Linked DNA regions of Homo sapiens: region 1 is linked to region 2. Evidence: promoter capture Hi-C in human tissues and cell types (Jung and others, 2019). All regions are on one chromosome and are shown on one strand. The core of a region is centred on a gene start or on the middle of the fragment in contact, and the rest is flanking DNA. Distances in the headings are between cores, read along the strand shown. Region 1 overlaps ENDOV (endonuclease V). Region 2 holds the start of EIF4A3 (eukaryotic translation initiation factor 4A3).

Region 1 (7,201 bases), core at 1,240-3,739, 280 kb after region 2:
GTTTCTCCATGTTGGTCAGGCTGGTCTTGAACTCCCAACCTCAGGTGATCGTCCGCCTCGGCCTCCCAAAGTGCTGGGATTACAGGCGTGAGCCACCACGCCTGGCCAACACTGTGTCTTCTTTAAGCCTCCAACAACCCATGGAGGGGTGGGGTGGGGCATCGGCTTCAATACACAAAGGAGGAGACACCAGGAAAGCAAGGGGCAGGCAGAGGTGATGCAGCCAGCAGCCTTAGCCTTGCTTCTGATGAAGACCAGGTCCTGGGGGGCTCCCGCGGACCTGATCCCAGGGAATCCTCCTATGGACCAGGTCCCGGAGGCTCCTCCTATGGACTAGATTCCAGGGAATCCTTCTACAGTCTAGGCTTCAGGGGCTCATCCTATGAACTAGATCCCGGGGAATCTTCCTATGGACCGGGTCCCGGGGAATCCTCATACAGACCAGATCCCGGGGAATCCTCCTATGGACCAGGTCCTGGGGGCTCCTCATACAGACCAGATACCAGGGAATCCTCCTATGGACCAGGTCCCAGGGGCTCCTACTATACACATCAGGTCTGGGAGTTGGGGCTCCTCCAGTGGACCGGGTCCGGGGTGGGGGTTCTCATATGGACCGGGTCCCAGGGGGCTGCTGCTATGGACCAGGTCCCGGTGGGGGCGGGGTGGGGGTGCTGTTGCTACAGACCAGGTCCCGGGGGAGCTGCTGCTACGGACCAGGTCCTGGGGGGGTCTGCTCCTATGGACCAGGTCCCGGGGGTACCTGCCCACCACCAATTTGCAGGGTACATCTTCTAGTTCCTTCTTCCAAACCCATCATCTCATAGGTGAGGCAGGGAAGGGGAGCCATGAGGGTGACGTAAGGGAGAGGGAAGGATGAGGGGGGCAGGGCATGGACGGACTGGGGATGGAGCAGGTGGCCGAAGGCTGTGCTTCCCACTGAGCTGCGTGCCTGGTGTCAGGTGGTGTATGAGGAGAGCCGCATGGTCAGCCTCACAGCCCCCTACGTGTCGGGCTTCCTGGCCTTCCGAGAGGTGCCCTTCTTGCTGGAGCTGGTGCAGCAGCTGCGGGAGAAGGAGCCGGGCCTCATGCCCCAGGCAGGTGTCTCATCCCTAGGACGAGAGAAAGGTCCCTCCTTCCCCCTGGGGGAGGGAAGGCTGCTGCAGGTCGCCACCACCACAGTGGCAGGGAGAGACTCATGAGCTTCCTGGAAGAGAGGAATGAGGATTTCTAAAAAGCTGGACCCCAGAGACAGTGCCCCCTTCTTGCCTCAGGGATGGCCCTGTCCTGAGGGCCGAGGGGCAGCTCAGCTGACTGTGACTCTCCCTGTGGCTCCATAGGTCCTTCTTGTGGATGGAAACGGGGTACTCCACCACCGAGGTAATCCTGCTCTTGGAGGTCCAGGGAGGGCACTGTGGGGAAGAGCGGGGGGAGAGGGCACCTCTGTCGTCCCCCACAGAAAATGCTGGGCCCTCGGCCTCTGCCGCCAGCCCCCTCCAATGGCTTCTTTCTCGGCGCAACGGGGACGCGCAGTGCGCTCAGCCCCGCCTCCCCCACCGCCGGTAAAGGACTGTCTACTTTCGCTTCACCCCTTACCTCTTTCCTGTCCGCCACTGCCTTCTCTACAGTGCCCTGTGCTGGCTCATCTCCAGGTGCCACTATCCAGTTCTGACCTGATCACCAAAAGATGTCCCAGGGCCCGGGCTCAGAGTGGCCTTCCCTGCCAGCCGCCCAACCTGCATGGCCCGTCAGGCCCCTTGTCCACAACTAGACAGGTGTACCCAGGCCCCCACTGATGCCAGGAACCTTGGCCTAGGGAGCGTGGCTGAGGGAGATGGGCTCTTTTTTTTTTGAGACGGAGTCTCGCTCTGTCGCCCAGGCTGGAGTGCAGTGGCGCGATCTCGGCTCACTGCAACCTCCGCCTCCCGGGTTCATGCCACTCTCCTGCCTCAGCCTCCTGAGTAGCTGAGACTACAGGTGCCCATCACCACGCCCGGCTAATTTTTTTGTATTTTTAGGAGAGACGGGGTTTCACGTGTTAGCCAGGATGGTCTTGATCTCCTGACCTCGTGATCCGCCTGCCTCGGCCTCCCAAAGTGCTGGGATTTCAGGCGTGAGCCACCGCGCCCGGCCTAGGGAGATGGGCTCTTTTACTGTTACATACAGAGCTGCGGGCGGCGCAGCAGCACCCAGAGAGGGCCCAGGAGGGGTGACATTGGGCCTTCCTGGCCAGCAAGTGTGACTCGGCCCTGGCTGCTGCCCTCGCACATGGGTGCAGAGCCAAAGGGTTGTCATGTGCCGACCCACATGCTCGTGCCAGCGCTGGCAGGCCACCGTCGAGGGAAGAGGAAGCTGGGAGGTGCAGGAAATGACCGGAGAGCTGCAGTATCCCAGCACGCCAGCGAGGTGCTGACCCTGGCACTGACCGTGTCAGAGAGAAGGAGGCTTCCTCCACGGCCTTGCACCCAGGACATCGGGCACAGGGGGCTTTCGCCCAGGTCTGCTTGGGACTTAGATCTGGTTTCCCCAGCCCTCTGCCTGTCCACAGACCTCTGCTCACTTAGGGAAGCTTTTGGTAAGACTGGCTTGTCCTGAATCCCTGTGCCAGGCCCCAGCCCCACCTCCCCAACCCCACCCTCCTTTCTCTCTGGCAGGCTTTGGGGTGGCCTGCCACCTTGGCGTCCTTACAGACCTGCCGTGTGTTGGGGTGGCCAAGAAACTTCTGCAGGTGGATGGGCTGGAGAACAACGCCCTGCACAAGGAGAAGGTGAGGAGGGGCCTGCTGCAGGCCATGCCCGGCAGCTCAGTGGCGGGGCTGTGGTGGCCCTGGGCATGAGGACACTTCTGGACCAGCCCTTGCCTGCTGACGCTGCCCTCCTCATCCCTGGCTTGTGGCCTGGAGTAAGAAAGACCTGCTTTCCTCTGGGTGCTGCATTGCCTGTCTCAGCTGAGGGCGCTCTGAGCTCCTCTCCTGCCTCCTGGGTGTGCCTGCCTCTCTGGTCCCCCTTGCCTCTGAGCCACCGTGGCACACCAAGTAGGGCTAAGTCCTCCAGTTACTGGGGACAGGACGGGCTTCCAGGCTGTCCCGGGCGCACTTGGTGCTTTCCCCACCCCGCCTTGCCCCAGCCCCTGTCTCCTCCCCTGCATGCTCAGGTACCACAGCCTCCAGGCCCCCCTCCCGCCAAGACCTGCCTGGAGCTGCCACCCACACTCTTCCTACCTCACCTTCCCCTGCATCTTCCTCCTCTGGGACCCCATGTTGGCACTGGGAGTGAGACACTCACAATGGAGGGAGCTGTTGACACCCCCAGCTGTTTCACTGGATGGCAGATTCTGAGAGCAGAGACTGTGTCTCTCATTCCTCCTAGCTCTCAGGTGCCTGCATGGAGAAGTTGCTTAATAAAAATCTGTTGAGTTGATGGGGACCTTAGACCCACTCAATGAGCCAGTCCACCGCCGCCAGAAATACCAGCCTGTTGAGCTGTGTCAGATGTGCCCAAAGCAGGAGAGAAGCCACAGGAAGGAAGCGGGCTCAGCACCCATCACTGGGCAGTGGCGGCACCTGTGTGGCTGCCAGCCTGGCACAGCGGCCCTGGGCAGATTGTTGCCCTTGTTCTAAGCCCCATCATCAGGTTTGAACAGGGTCTTGTGGGCAGCACCCTCAGCTCAGGGACAAGACCACTTCACCGCCTGCACGCTCAGTGTCGTCTCAGGTGGTGTGGCTTTGCCTGGGCTGTGGCTCACCTCCAAGATCAGTCCCCTTCCCTTTCCTGGCCCAGTGACTGGGTTTTAAAAATAAAGAGACCTGGGCCGGTTGCGGTGGCTCACTCCTGTAATCCCAGCACTTTGGGAGGCCGAAGTGGGTGGATCACGCGATTAGGAGATCGAGACCATCCTGGCTAGCATGGTGAAACCCCATCTCTACTAAAAATACAAAAAATTAGCCGGGCGTGGTGGCACATGCCTGTAGTCCCAGCTACTCAGGAGGCTGAGGTGGGAGAATCGCTTGAACACGGGAGGCAGAGGTTGCAGTGAGCTGAGATCGCGCCACTGTACTTCAGCCTGGGCAACAGTGCGACACTCCGTCTCAAAAAATAGAGACTTGCCTTCAGCCCTTCACCAAGAAGAGAGGGGTTTTTTTCCCCATTTTTCCCTCCATTTTCCAGATCCGACTCCTGCAGACTCGAGGAGACTCATTCCCTCTGCTGGGAGACTCTGGGACTGTCCTGGGAATGGTGAGTAGCTAGGGCCCTGAGCTCCTCCAAAGCCCCGGGGTAGGGGATCCTTTGCAGGCAGACACAGGTGCATGCAGACACGCGTGCACTCACACTTGCCCACATCAACCCCCCGCCTGCCCGTCCATCCATCCTCCTGCCTCTGACTGAGTCCAGGGTGTGATGTTTGTGTTTCTTTCCTCCAGCCGTGCTGAGGGAGCCCACCCTCCCCCAGGGACAAGCAGCAGGAAGGCGCCCTGAGGGTGGGCAGGCCCTGGCCCCTGAGAGCACTGCCCCTTCAGCTTCCCCCTTGCCCCCAGGACATTTTGTCAGAGCTCCAGCTGCTGAGGCTGTCCTGACCCTGGTCCCGGTGGCCCAGCCCACAGGACAGCCCTCGCCTTCCTTGTCACAGGCCCTGAGGAGCCACGACCGCAGCACCAGGCCCCTCTACATCTCCGTGGGCCACAGGATGAGCCTGGAGGCCGCTGTGCGCCTGACTTGCTGCTGCTGCAGGTTCCGGATCCCAGAGCCCGTGCGCCAGGTGGGTGTGCTGGGGATGCGGGGAGGCAGCACAGGCTCCTCTGCTTCCTGCCACCTGCTGTTCAGGGCTCCCCAGCAGCTCAGCTGGGGTCAGAGTGCAGTGACATGAGGACGGGGGTTCCTGGGCCGAGGACAGGTCACAGACATCTTGCTGGAGAGCTTGCTGGGCCCTGCAGTCAGGACAGTAGACTGGGGGGTGCAGGGCTCCCAAGAGTTCATCCCCAGGCCCTGCACCCCATGCACTCAGCCTCCCAGCCTCTCTGAGCCTCCTGCACCCAGATACAGGCCAGCTTGGAGAATCAGTGATGTTAGCTCAGGTGGTGAGGTGTCCTGCCAGTTCCCAGCCAGCCCCTCAGGTCCCAGAGGGAGCAGCTGAACTTGAGCCAGGAGGCTCCTGCAGGAAAGCTGTGCAGGCCCCAGAGACGCCAGTCTGGGGACTTGGGTATGCCCGCCCCAGGACCCAGCACAAAACTGGTGTTCGGTCCCCCAGGAAGGGTGAGAACTCTGCTGAAGCCATCAGCTCAGCTGAGAAAGGACTCAGCCTGTGGGCCAGGGAGAGACAGCTGGCACGAGATGCCCACAGACAGCCTCGATAGGACCAGGGGACCACAAGACACGGGTGGATGCTGTCCCAGAGAAGCCCACAGAGTGAGGGTTCAAGAAAAGTCAGTCTTAGGAAGAGACCCGCTGGAGGAAGGGGAAGGACAGCCCTGGGCAGGAAGGAGTTTGATGTGCTCAAGAAATGGGGGGCCCGGAGGGTGGCTCACGCCTGTAACCCCAACACTTTGGGAGACAGAGGTGGGAGGATCACTTGAGCCCAGGAGTTTGAGGGCGCCCTAGGCAACATAGACCCCGTCTCTACAAAAAAAACGTAAAAACAAATTAGCCAAGTGTGGTGGTGCGTGCCTGTGGTCTCTGCTACTTAGGAGGCTGAGGCGGGAGGATCACCTGAGCCCAGGAGGTCGAGGCTGTAGTGTGCCCTGATTGGGCCACTGCACTCCAGCCTGGGTGACAGAGCAAGACCTTATCTCAAAAAAACTTTAAAAAACAAAAACTCAGCAGGAAGGTGTGGCCGGAGCCAGATGGCAGTGAAGTACAGAGTGGGTGGGAGCCCGTGAGCATCTTGGGGTGCGCCAGGGTTTCAGACGTCACCCACAGGGACTTGGATGGCTGTGAGTTGGCAGCGGGGCGCCCGCAGATTGGCCTTTTTAGGTGGCCGCTGTGCGTGCTGTGGAGGCTGTGGACGCAGGTCTGCACAAGCCATGCTGCTTCCAGCAGCCCAGCCCCTGAGCCTCCCTGGTGTCTGCCCCTTCCCCATCTTACCCCACCGCTTGCCCTGCAGCCTGCCCTGGGGCAGCCGCAGCACCGGTGGAAAACCCCCAGGCCACCACCTTCGGGCCGGGGCCTTCCGGCTGCTGGCGCGCAGTGTGGCCTCCAGGGGGCAGCAGCAGCCCACATACCACAATGGCCCTCGCCCTGGGGAGCTGTGCTCAGTGGTGGCGTCTGAGAGCGGGCTCCACAGCCTTGCAGGGCTTTGCTCAGGGCACAGGTGTGTGGACTCTCAAGCCTGTGAGCTGTGTCCCCAGCCCCCAGGAAAGAGGCCTTTCTTCCTCCATTCCAACTCAGCCGTGTGGTCTTCCGAGAGAGAACCCAAGAAACTGTCCCCCAGGCCTTCAGCCACAGGAACTTTAGGTCGTGCTGCTGCTGCAGACAGCACAGTTCCTGGAGCTCCTGTACCTTTTTCTGCCTCAGCGCGCCCCAGAGTAGGACAGTGGCCCATCCTTGCAAGGGAGGGGACACCTGGCCTGTGAGTACCTTAAGCATCTAGAAATAGAGCAAGGATCTGTGCCTAGCACCAGCAAAGAGCCTGCCAAATCCTGGGCCCACCCTCCAGAGGAAGGAAAGCCGCAACCAGTTGGGATATGCAGCCACCCCGTACCAGGAGCCCGCAGCTTCTTACTGTTGGGCGTGAGCCGAGGATCGTGTCCTGCAGGGCTGGCTCTGTCTCTCGGTCCATTTTCTTCCTGAGCTCACTCACCTCTCAACAGGTTCACCTCCTGCTCTGTTCCAGAAGGTCCTGGGAGAGCACAGACGGGGTTAGTGTTGGTCTGCTCTCTCCCTGGCTCCGCGCCGGGCCGTCTTGGTGGCCCCATGGTCACAGGCGCTGCGGCGCTCCTGGTTGCCAGGTCCAGGCTCTCCTGCCAGGCCAGGCTGGGCCGCTCCAGGGGAAGGTGAGAGGTGCTGGCCCCGCCTACCGCTGCCCCACTTCCCCCATGAATGGAAGCAGGAGCAGGCTGGGGGATTAGCCGTTGCTTTCCATGAGTCGTGCAGCCCTGAAGCTAATCTAAGCTCATCTGAGCTGGGATCAGGGGGACTTCCCAGGGCCAGACCCCCCATGCCCCCGGGGGTTCCCACTCAGACCTGAGCCCTGTTCAGTGTCCCTCCCTGCT
Region 2 (6,258 bases), core at 2,467-4,966:
TCCGAACTTATAACTGGTGTCTGAAAAGAGGGTAGTCATGGGGACTGAGCCGTCAACCTGCAGGATATGGCCTATCTCCAGGCAGGTGGTGTGAGTTGAACTGGAGGACACCCAGCTGGAAAAGCCCCACACCTCTGCTCACAGAAGTCTTCTTCTGTGCTGATGACTGTTGTGGTGGTGTGAGAGCAGAGGAAAAGCACAGTCTGTTTTTCCGAAATTGTGTTATATACAATTCCACATGCCAGCAAACCACTAAGCAAAGCTGGCTAAGAAAATGAAAGCCTTGGCCGGGCGCAGTAACTCATGCCTGAAATCCCAGCACTTTAGGAGGCCAAGGAGGGTGGATCACCTGAGGTCAGGAGTTTGAGACCAGCCTGACCAACATGGTGAAACCCCCGTCTCTACTAAAAATATGAAAATTAGTCGGGCATGGTGGTGCATGCCTGTAATCCCAGCTACTTGGGAGGGTGAGGCAGGAGAATAGCTTGAAACTGAGAGGCAAAGGTTGCAGTGAGCCGAGATGGCACCACTGCACTCCAGCCTGGGCAACAGAGCGAGACTCCATCTCAAAAAGAAAATGAAAGCTTTCCACAGTAGAGAACACAAATTTAAAAAAGTATTAAACCCTGTGGCTAAAGTCAGGGAAAGTGTTGGAACTGAGCGTGTACAAGCTGAGGGAAACAGTCATCCCAGAGCATCTAACTGCACTGCGCTGCCCAAATTTACATCCAGCCCTGCGCCGCACCCCAGGACAACTTACTGTGCGATGACATCTCTCCCTTTGATGATCTGCTTGATTGCTCGTTGCTGGATTGCTGATGGTTTTTCAAAACCTGCAAATAAAAACAAAAAATTAGCCCTCACCACAATGACAGCATAGAAACCCTGTACTGTGAGCTCCTCAGGGGCAGACATGGTTTGTTTTTTGAACCTGTCCTCCAGCCTAACCCAGTGTTCAACATAGCAAGCTCTCAAAACCCAGGGGCTCAATGAATTGGGCTGAGTGATTTCTACACTAACGTGGGATATTATTTGTAAAGACCAATCTCTATTTTTAAAAAACCACCAAATTGTAGAATATAGACAACAGTTTTGTTTAAAAAAAAAAAAAAATCTGGGTGTGCAGCATCTGGAAGTGTAAGTGCCAAAATGTTCCTGGCAGTTACTGCAGTAGAGGGGTGGAAAGAAACTTACTTTTTACTCTAATTACTCCCTTAGGTTTGACTGGATTACAAACAACCTATACTACTTTTTAAATTAAAAAAAAAAACAACAAAAAAACAGGAAAGTCACTCTAGCCATTGTTCTCTCCTACTAGCTAGCATTAAGTCTGTGTGTTGCTGACAGGTCTACAACTCTGTTTAACCTGCGTGGGTCACGCTGCAGGGTGTCCTATGTTGTTCTGTCTGGATGCAGCTCACTAACTACAACACCATCACACCATCTCTCTTGCAAAGCAACTACTACACCAAAGGGTGAGGCTATTTTGAAGAAGAACCACGTGTTTTTCAAGTAAATAAAATTTTATGTACAAAAACTCTATTTCAATTATTTTTTGGTAGTCTCTTAAATGTAGCTCTGCTCAGTTCTGGGGCATAGCGAAAAATAAGAAACAAAAGAAAATGTAGCACAATTTCCCATCTTAACACAAATGCAAATATAGCAGATGATTTAAACTCTTCATGAAGAGCAAGCACATAGATGGGAAACTAACAACAGTGTCTTAGGGCAGGGACTGCCTGAGTGCCAGGAAACCAGGTGGGGCTGTCAGCCTCACTGTGAGGCTGCCTGAGATGCTTTTTCACCACGCATCCTCAGCAACTTCGCTTCACTTTGTCCAAACTGTTGTGGCATCAAGAACTACAGGATACGGCCAGGTGGGGTGGCTCACACCTGTAATGCCATCACTTTGGGAGGCTGAGGCTGGTGGATCACTGAGGTCAGGAGTTCAAGACCAGCCTGGGCAACATGGCAAAATCCCCTCCCTACTAAAAATACAAAAATTAGTAGGACGTGGTGGCCCACACCTATAATCCCAGCTACTCGGGAGGCTGAGGCAAAGGAATCGCTTGAGCCCCAGAAGTGGAAGTTGCAATAAGCTGAGATCATGCCACTACACTCCAGCCTTGGTGACAAGAGCAGGACTGTCAGAAGGAAAAGGAAGAAAGAAAAGGAAGAGAACTACAGGATAAAAAATGTCCCTGTCCCAAGCATTAAACACAGGCCATTTATCCCAGATGCTGGTCATTCCCATCTATGTGCCCAACCCAACCTCTTCTCCAGGCTCTCCCTCAACTTCCTCACATCTTTCAAACATACCAAGAGACAGCTCCTGATTCTGACTCTCTGGAGTGCTGCCTACCTAGCCAAATGTTTGCAGCATCAACCACCGGTTACTCAAAACACTCCAACTCTCCTCCTTCTGTCACTCACGTTCAATCCATCAGCCAATGCTGTCAGCTCCCTGGTACTCCATCTCCAAGGCAGCACAATCCTCTCTTCCCTGAACTGCAGCAAAAGCTCCCAACTCTCTTGTTTCCTCTCCTGCCTTGCCTCGCCTCACCTCAAATCTACAGACACCCAGAAGAATCTTTAAAACTGTAAATGTGATCGTGTCACATAGCTACTTAAAACCTTCCACTGGCTTCCCACTAGATTTCTAAATGAAATTCAAATTATTCGTCACCCTACACGTCTTTGCTAGATCTGCCCCGACTAGCTCTCCAAAATCCCACCACAGGGGACTTCTTTCAGTTCCTGGAATGCAGCTGGCTAAGGGCTGCAAGGCCCTGGCACCAGCTGTTCCTTCTGCCCCAACTGCTCTTCCCTCTTCTCATAACAGTCTCCTTCATCCAGAACTCTGCTCAAATGGCACCCCCTCCTGCGAACCCCCTTACCTCTCTGCTTTACTAATTCTCTCCTCCTTCCCAGTCCCACTCTATTCAATTACCCCGCTTCAGGTTCTTCAGGTTGCCTGGGCAACCTGACAGTATGCTTTCCCCCCAAACGAAATTCAAAACCCGTAAAGGCGCAAACCCTTCCGGTTTACCGCCAAAACCCCAGTACCTAGAAAAGCTAATAGGTAGAAATCAGTTATCTGCTGAATGAAGGACGCTGAGGTGCCTCGAAGCGGCTGCAGCCCCCGACAGACCCAGCGCCGAGCTCTGCACGGGGGACACACACCGAAAGCGCCGACACAGCCAGGCGTGAGGGCGAGGACGGGGGTGGGGGTGGGGGTCGGACGTCACTGGCCCCCGAGCCTCGACCCTGACCACGACCTCCGGAGCGCAGGGCCGGCCCGGGAGTCACCAGTCTGGCCCTCAGCCCCCGGCTCGCCCCCGACTCGCCCCCGGCTGGCCCCCGCGGCCCGCGCCCGCTCACCGTAAGCGTAGATGCCCCGCAGCAGGTCCTCCCGCAGGCCCATGGTGTCGAACGTGGGGGTCACATCCACCTCCTCGCTGGTCTCGAATTCCACTTTAGTCATGTCTTCCTCTTTGAGCAGCCGCTTTCGCGCCGAGCCCGAGGTCGCCATCGTGGCCGTGGTCGCCATGATTCAGAGTCCGCGGAAGAGCACAGCGCGCGCCGCTGCCGACCTCGCTGCCGCTGCCGACCTCGCTGTGCCGCTGCCGACCTCGCTGCCGCTGCCGACCTCGCTGTGCCGCTGCCGACCTCGCTGTGCCGCTGCCGACCTCGCTGTGCCGCTGCCGACCTCGCTGTGCCGCTGCCGAGAACAGACGCCTTAAGTATGCGAAAGCGAGAGACGTGCGTGCGTACGTGCGTACGTGCGTACGCGCGACGCGGCCACGCCTCTGGGGGACGGGGCACTCTTCGTCACGTGAAAGGGAACTGGGCGTTTGCCGCAGGGAAAAGTAAGGTGTTTCTGCTCTCGCGCCATATGCAGTTCCCGCGGGATCTCGTTGAGGGCGGGGCACCCAGTTCCTTACGAAAGGGATGGAGGGGGTGGTACTTCTAAAGTTGGCGGTGTTTCGTACCGGCCGCGGGATTTCGCGGACTGGGGCGCTGAGGTTCTTTGAGCGGCGTGTGGACCTGAATTCCCTGGAAACAGGCTGGGGCCGCGAGGGGCCTCCGCTCCGGGCGGGGTCCCCAGATAGCCCCGCCTCGAATAAAAATGACGAGCACGGGTCCTCTCTCGGGCCCGCAGTGGGTGGACTGCGTCGCAGACCCGTAGTGGAGGCGCCCAGCTCGCCGGGGAGATTCGAGTGGAAACCCTCACGGCCGCCGGTGGTGGGCCCCGGCGCGGCGCTGGGCTCCGGCGGGTCTGCGCTGGGGAGGGCCAGGGCCCCTGAAGCCGGCGTCCCTCTTAGGGGACGCGCCTGGGTGTGTCTTCACCGTTTGCCTGGTGAGTTGGAGACAGGGTCTCGCTCCGTCGCCCAGGCTGGAGTGCAGTGGTAGGATCAGGGTTCATTGTAGCCTCCGCCTCAGCCTCTGGAGTAGCTGGGACCTCAGGCGCGCGCCACCACGCCCGGCTAATTTTTTAAATTTTTTTGTAGAGACGGGGTTGGGGGAGGCGGGGGTTAGGGTTGTCCTGGCTGGTCTTGAACTGCGGGGCCTCAGGTGATCCGCCTGCCTTGGCCTCCCAAAGTGCTGGGATTACAGGCATGAGCCACTGTGCCCGGCAAGCAGCTGTTATAAATAAAATACATGCTGAGCCTGCAATTTGCTCTTAATGAAGGCCACTTGTCAGTAGACGGTGCTGCTAATGCGTGTCCTGCAGCAAAGATAACCCAGACGGGATCATTTTTTAATTGCCCAGCAGAACTTTAACCAGTTGTGCATCTTAACCTGCTTTTTGTTTGTTCGTTTGTTTGTTTTGAGACAGTCTGGCCCTGTCGCCCAGGCTGGAGTGCCATGGCGCGATCTCGGTTCACTGCAGCCTCCACCTCCCGAGCACAGGCGATCCTCCCGCCTCAGCCTCCAGAGCACCTGGGACCACAGGTGTCCACGCGCAGCCACTAACCGCTTTCTTATCTGACACTTTAAGTGCTTCTTCGTACCCAGCTCCTCTAACGCCTTTTGAAGCAGCTCCATCATCTTTGAAGGGCAGTTCATGCTGTTGAGAATCATGTTTTTAACTTTGGGAAAATTGTATTTCCACGAGCGCCAGCTCTGTCCTTTTTTTTTTTTTTTTTTTTTTTTTTTTTTGACGGAGTCTTGCTCGGTTCGCCCAGGCTGGAGTGCAGTGTCGCGATCTCAGCTCACTGCAAGTTCTGTCGCCCAGGTTCACGCCATTCTCCTGCCTCAGCCTCCCAAATAGCTGGGACTACAGACACGCGCCACCACGCCCAGCTAATTTTCTGTATTTTTAGTATAGACCGGGTTTCACCATGTTGGCCAGGATGGTCTTGATCTCTTGACCTCATGATCCGCCCACCTCGGCTTCCCAAAGTGCTAGGATTACAGGCGTGAGCCACCGCGCCCCGCTATTTTGTGTGTGTGTGTGTGTGTGTGTGTGTGTGTGTGTGACAGAGTCTCGCTCTGTTCCCCAGGCTGGAGTGCAGTGGCGCAATCTTGGCTCACTGCAACCTCTGCCTCCCGGTTCAAGCGACTCCCCTTCCTCACCCTCCTGAGTAGCTAGGATTACAGGCATGCACCACCACGCCCGGCTAATTTTTGTATTTTTAGTAGAGATGGGGTTTCCCCGTGTTGGTCAGGCTGGTCTTGAACTCCTGACCTCATGATCTGCCCGCTTCAGCCTCCTAAAATGCTGGGATTACAGGCATGAGCCCGGTCCTGTCCTTTCTTATGGTCACAAATCTGGCTTGCATCGCTGGGCACATCTTTAATCCACAGCTTCTTTCTAGGAGTGCTTGAAAAGCTCTCCTTTTATGAAGGTTAATTTTAGTTAAAACCAGAGCATCCTGGCCAGGCCTGGTGGCTCACGCCTGTAATCCCAGCACTTTGGGAGGCCGAGGCAGACGGATCATGAGTGTAGGAGTTCGAGAACAGCCTGGCCAAAATGGTGAAACCCCATCTCTACTAAAAAAAAAATACAAAAATTAGCTGGCCGTGGTGACGGGTGTCTGTAGTCCCAGCTACTCTGGAGGCTGAGGCAGGAGAATCTCCTGAACCCCGGAGGTGGAGGTTGCAGTGAACCGAGATTGCGCCACTGCACTCCAGCCTGGGCGACAGAGACTCCATCTCAAAAATAAACAGAAAACCAGAGCATCCTTTTATCAAGAAGTCGGTGGATTGCAGTATTTCAAGGGTGAACAAGTAAATGCAGCCTTCTCCAAGAGT

Evidence for each region. Contacts are between HindIII fragments. The study calls those that stand out against the background at their distance.
Region 1: a fragment that was not itself captured here is called in contact with the fragment with the promoter of EIF4A3 in region 2 in 2 of the 25 tissues and cell types used here (bladder and lymphoblastoid cells).

The regions. Positions count from the first base shown.
Region 1 is chr17:80,420,869-80,428,069 of GRCh38, forward strand. It overlaps ENDOV (endonuclease V), which reads left to right. Exons shown (of 10, transcript NM_173627.5): 3 at 960-1,094; 4 at 1,338-1,377; 5 at 2,652-2,764; 6 at 4,164-4,232; 7 at 4,624-4,752. Among named protein-coding and RNA genes, the nearest start is that of MIR4730, 5.1 kb to the left of the region's middle. RefSeq lists enhancers at 4,085-4,586, 4,587-5,086. The HindIII fragment of the contact is 8,908 bases long and covers 1-6,943 here.
Region 2 is chr17:80,143,412-80,149,669 of GRCh38, forward strand. It overlaps EIF4A3 (eukaryotic translation initiation factor 4A3), which reads right to left and starts at 3,717. Exons shown (of 12, transcript NM_014740.4): 1 at 3,382-3,717; 2 at 761-833. The coding sequence starts at 3,550. RefSeq lists enhancers at 2,944-3,658, 3,659-4,371, 4,372-5,085, 5,086-5,798 and silencers at 3,296-3,345, 4,186-4,375. The HindIII fragment of the contact is 11,065 bases long and covers 1-6,258 here.